2 separate regions of the Homo sapiens genome follow, and region 1 is linked to region 2. Evidence: promoter capture Hi-C in human tissues and cell types (Jung and others, 2019). All regions are on one chromosome and are shown on one strand. Each heading gives the region's core, a stretch centred on a gene start or on the middle of the fragment in contact. The rest is flanking DNA. Distances are from core to core; before and after follow the strand shown.

What was found. Contacts are between HindIII fragments. The study calls those that stand out against the background at their distance.
Region 1: a fragment that was not itself captured here is called in contact with the fragment with the promoter of VSTM2B in region 2 in 3 of the 25 tissues and cell types used here (H1 embryonic stem cells, dorsolateral prefrontal cortex and mesendoderm cells).

What each region holds. Positions count from the first base shown.
Region 1 is chr19:29,290,694-29,293,393 of GRCh38, forward strand. All of the region lies in intron 9 of VSTM2B-DT (VSTM2B divergent transcript), which reads right to left. Among named protein-coding and RNA genes, the nearest start is that of UQCRFS1-DT, 79 kb to the left of the region's middle. The HindIII fragment of the contact is 8,231 bases long and covers 1-2,700 here.
Region 2 is chr19:29,524,647-29,527,346 of GRCh38, forward strand. It overlaps VSTM2B (V-set and transmembrane domain containing 2B), which reads left to right and starts at 1,348. Exons shown (of 5, transcript NM_001146339.2): 1 at 1,348-2,019; 2 at 2,565-2,700. The coding sequence starts at 1,938. VSTM2B-DT (VSTM2B divergent transcript) reads right to left here and starts at 1,104. Exons shown (of 10, transcript NR_040029.2): 1 at 778-1,104. The region is part of intron 1 of LOC124904683 (a long non-coding RNA gene); the gene reads right to left. The HindIII fragment of the contact is 17,468 bases long and covers 1-2,700 here.

The sequences.
Region 1 (2,700 bases), core at 172-2,671, 230 kb before region 2:
TGTCAGCAAAGCTCTGAAGAGCGGCTCTGCACCAACAGGCAGCCGGCAGGCCCCAGCCTGGTCCCACGACTTGTCACTGAAGATACTAAACCCGCAGCCGCTGAATTCCTGTCCTAGTTAGGGTGTCTCTTAAAGCAGACCCTGAACAATGACTTGGGTGCAAGTAGTTGATTTGAGAGGTGACCTCAGGGAACAGGAGCAACGGAGCAGGAGGAAGCCAGTGACAGGGTGCAGCCCTGTGGGAAATGGGGGCCCAATCTGCAGGGCCAACGCAGTGTTGTGAAATTCTTCGAGCAGTCTCTGGAGAGCAGGGGAGCATGGAGCTCAGAACTGCCCCTCTGAAGGACTAGAGATTGGGCGTGGATCCCCACAGCATCCCCTGCTGGTAGAGGGTTCATCCTTGAGTGTGTTAACCCTTCTGCTCTTCCAGACTGTGCCTCTGCATGGCTGATTAGACTCCCACAGCTCAAAGAAAGCTCCGAATCAAAAAAGCAGAGGTTGCAGGCTGCCTGCCAGAAGTGAGACCCTGGTGATGGGCCTGGCACTGCTCACTGCAGTGCTGATGTCAGGAGGGCCCAGGATGTGGCACAGAGCATGAGAGCCATCTGCAGCAGCACCTGTGCCCAGCAGTGTGCTAAGCACCAAATGAGAGCAGAAGTCATTGTGAAAAACAGTGCCCAGCCTCAATGACTCCTAGGAAAGTTTGGAATAGACAAGTGACCCCCGGGGCCCCAGCCCAGAAGCCTAAGTTAGAATTGAGTAACAAGAAGAAAAGATGCTGTTATTTAAAACAAAATTTGACTGCAGTGGCTGCAGCACTCTCAGGCAGAGGCCAAGTTCTTCGTAGGGGTAGGTGGCCTTTTTGTTTAGAAACATACTTCAGAGGATCTCTTTGTGTGTGTGAAAATATAGGCCCCAGGGCACAGTGGGAAGGAGAAAGGCAGAGCGCTCTGCTCTGTAGTGATTGGAGTTTTTGTCTTGTTTGTTTGGAGGGGGCTTGTGATGCGAAGAAGAAAATTGACGGAGCTTGGGACACAAAGGTCAACTGGCAGGAGTGGATTGGACCTTGGAAGGAAGGCAGTCAGGAGTTACTCCCTGTAGAGGGATGGTCAGGGGGCCACAAGGCAAGGATTGCTCACAAAACAGCCACATCAAGTCGGTGCATTCTGTGATATGCTGATATTAACTATCTGGTGTCCCTGACCCTTCGGTATGAAACATCTTAGCCTCTCATTAGTTATGCTTTGGGAAACAAAGAAAGAGGAACATTGGGGGTGAATTAAGATAGAGAGAAGAGAGCAGCCATGGAAAGAGAGTGGGGGACAAGAACTCAGCAGGGCAGATGCAGGTAGGTGAGCTCCAAAACTGGGTCTCAGCCCAGGAGGACTCTTGGCTTCACCCAGGAAAGCATTCAAGGGTGAGCTGGTGGTATCAGACACGTTTTATGGAAGCTGCAGTGCACAGCAGCAGTAGAAGGACTGCTCCTTGCAGAGCAGGGATACCCCACAGGCAGTGGGCCCAGAGTAGCAGTTCAGAGGCAGTGCTGCACTCATATTTATACCCACTTTTAATGACATGCAAATTAAGGGGAGGGTTATGCAGAAATTTCTAAGAAAAGGGTGGTAACTCCCAGGTGTTGCCATGGCAATGGTAACTGACATGGTACACTGGTGGGTGTGTCTTACGGGAAGCTGCTTCTGCCTTGTACCTGTTTTAGCTAGTCCGCAATTTGGTCCGGTGTCTGAGCCCTGCCTCCAAAGTCAAGTCCCGCCTCCTATCTCAGGGCTGAGTATCCAGGGATATGTGCTCCCTTAGGAATCCTCGGAGAAGTTGAGAAGACACTAGACATCTCACAGCATGCAGAGTAGGGGCTTGAGTCTGCATATTTGAAGTTGGAGGAAAGTGTGGCCCCCTTAAGCCTGAAGAACACAGGACTCTGGGCTGTAATTCAGATCTATTTGGTACCCAGTTATCACTACCAAAAACGCAGCTCAGCCGGGTCCCATGCCAGAGAGGGAAGCCCAGGGATGACAAATGTGGCCCCTGCCCTCGGATTATGCCAATGTCCTAGGGCGTTCCAGTTGTCAGCAACCAACCTGGCTAAGCAATGCCTGAGATGGCCTGGTGGGAGGCTCCATAAGCTGACCAGAGACATCCTGGAAGACCCCCAGGAGAAGGGACATCAGAACATCAGCTTGAATGATGAGAAAAAAATAGCAATAGGTAGAAAGCGAGAGAGAAGAAACTGTGGGCAAAGAAAAGAGAAGAGTTTCTGGAGGGAGAGACCCTCATGGGGTCTTCCCTAGGCCACCAGGAACACACAGGTGTCACCTTCTGTATCTGTCAGGGGTCTTGGGGAAACTGAGGCACACTCAGAGTCATTGAGAAGAGTTTAGTGAAGGGACTGCTCACATGGGATAGAGAGGACTAGAGGGATGCAGTAAACCCAAGGCCACGGCTGTGCACATCACTACTGCCTGACCCACAGGGGACAGTGCCACTGTGGAAGAGGCCACAGGAAGGAGCTGGGGATTTCAGAGAGGAGCCCAACCCCTGCCACTTTTAGCCTAGCAGGGAGGGAGCAGGGCAGATGAATATCCCGATCTCTTTCTTCCATCCAACCAGTCCCGCCCCCATTGACTAACCGAGCTGGAAACAGAGGTCACGGGAGCCTGGTCAGTGCAGCCCTGCAGACCTAGA
Region 2 (2,700 bases), core at 98-2,597:
AGCCAGGGGGTGGGAGTGACTCCTGGGCCATAGACGAGGAAACTGAAAGGCAGGCACTGGAGGCAAGAAGGGCTGGCCCCGGGCACCCGCTGGCGAGGACAGCCTTGGAGAGGGCCTGCAGCTCCTCCCCTCTGAGCTGTGCTGCGCTGGCCGCCTGGACCAGGGTGGCTGCTGGAGAGTGTTTTCCCTCTGGGTTTCCTTCTCCTTGGCTCCCAGGGAATCCTCTGGCGGTGCCTCCGGGAGGCTGGTAGCCGGGGAAGCAGGCACGTGAATCCACCGGGCTGCCCCACCCCAACCTGAGGTCAGAGCTGAGGCGTAGGGGCCGGGGTAGGGGCAGAGGTGCCGAAACGCACTAGCTGGGGACTCCCGGGGGAAGGAGATAGGAGAGACCCAAGGCGAGCCTTAGGACTCGCCCCTATGACTATGACTACGCGCTGCGTCCGAACCACATGTCCACCCCGCATTTGCCTTCGGGGACCAGACCGCGCTCCCTCAGATGGCTGGGGAGGGAGCAGACTCCGGGTGAAGGCTGGGGGAGGTACCGGGATGCCGAGTACGCCAGAGCAGGCGGGGGATGGGTTCCGGCTTCCTGCCGCCTCGGCATCTCGCTTTGCACCGGGCAAAGAAGGGGCCACGACCGGCGAAGAGCGCGTGGAGACACAGGGACCCGCGATCCAGGGGCAGGAACCCCGCCCCCTCCCGGAAACCTCCCGGGCCCTGAGTCGTGCCCGGCGCTCCCCACCCCACCCCACCCCCGCCGCCCCTGCCGTCACTCACGGCCGCTGCGGGCTGGCTAGCGTGTGCGCTCTCCGCGCCGCAGGCACCTGCTCGCTGGGCGCTGTGCGCTCACTTCTCCCTCGCGCACTGCAGACTCCCGGCGCTGCCGCCGCCACCCAGCGTAGTCTCCGGCTGGGCACAGCGTTCCGCCCTTCTCGCGGCCCCGGGCGCCCACCCATCCGTCATGGCCCAGGCCTGGGCCAAACAGCGGGGCAGCTGGTTGCCCAAACTGGGGTAAGGAGTTGAGGGCTGGGAGCTGCAGAGAGGACCGAGGGACACACGGGGAGCAGGGATGAGCGGCCGTCTCGAGCCGTGCAGACTGGGAAGAAGCCAGGGAGAGTTTGGGTGGGAGGACTCCCAACCCAAGCGGGTGCGGGGCGGGGCTGTACTCCAACCAGAAAGACGGTGGTCCCTCCGAGCGACCCCCGAGGAGAGAGGGGGAGCGCTCTGGGGCGGGGGCGGGGCGGGCTGTGGCAGGAGAGGGGAGGGCGGGGGCGATGCAGCGGTGGAGGCGGCTTGGCGCCCAGCCACTGACCGCCCCCTCCCTTCCCCTCCCCTCCCCCTCTCCCCGCCTCTCTCCGGCTCCGGGTCCGCCACGCCGGACCCGCTCTCCCCGCGCTGCGCTGGGTCGGACGCCAGGTCTGCGCGCCGCGGCTGAGCGCCCACTCGCCCTGCGGAAAGAGCCGCGGAGGAACCGGCGGGGGCGGCTGCGGGAGCCGAAGGAGGTGGCAATCGGGAGCAGAACCAGAAGGAGACAGGGAGGCAGAAGCTCGCGGCTCCGTGGCACGCACTCCCTCGGCCAGGGATGGGTCCCGGCGCGGCCCAGCCCCTGCCCGGCCCGCCGGGCAGAGACTGAACCGCGGATCCCCACCGTCCTGTGGACGACCGGACAGAGAGAGGCACTGACCGATCGCCAGCAGCCTCCCGGTGGGACCGCGTCTCCTGCACACCCCGCGCAGCGCCCCCCGCCGGAGCCGCACCGGGCAAGCCGGCGAGGGAGCGGGGCTGATTGGCGGCCGCCGGCGGCCAGGGGAGGGGGCGCCGCGCGGGGCCATGGCAGGCTCGGAGGCGTCCTAGCCCGAGCCGGAGCCGATCCGAGCCCACGCGGCCGCCGCCTCTCCGCTCCCGGGCCCCCGCCGCCACCGCGCCCCCCGCGGGAGATGGAACAGCGGAACCGGCTCGGTGCCCTCGGATACCTGCCGCCTCTGCTGCTGCATGCCCTGCTGCTCTTCGTGGCCGACGGTGAGCGCGGGAACTTTGCTGCCGCTGTGGACTCGGGGGGGTCTTTGCTGGGGCCGCCACCGAGAAGAAGAAGAAAGAGAACGAACCGGGAAGCTTCGCGGTCTCCAGCAATCCCGCTGTGCAGCCTGGGCCCGGAGGGGTAGGGAGAGGCGAGCGGCGAAGGGTCGCCGCAGCAGCAGCGCCGCGCCCGAGTCGTTCCCAGTCCCGCCGGGGCCCCGGCTGCGGAAAGGATGCCTGCGGGGAGCGGGAGTAGGCGCGCCCCAGCCAGGCTCTGGCGGTGCGGCCAGGGGCGGGGGAGAAGCACGAGTCGCCCCTGCCGCCCCGCCCCATCCGGAGGGAAGCAGTAGGCAGCCGATGGCCGGTCCCTGCCTCGGCCCTGCAGCCGCTTCCCCGAACTTTGCTAGCCCCTCCGGCCGTGCGCCAGGGAGCAGCTGCGGGGTGGGGGGCACAAGGCCAGCCAGCCAGAGACCGACTGCCTCGCTTTAGGTTGCCCCAGGCCCCCGACCTACAGCTGGTCACGCCTCTCTCTCTCTCCCCACCCCCAGCTGCATTCACAGAAGTCCCCAAAGATGTGACAGTACGGGAGGGAGACGACATCGAAATGCCCTGCGCGTTCCGGGCCAGCGGAGCCACCTCGTATTCGCTGGAGATTCAGTGGTGGTACCTCAAGGAGCCACCCCG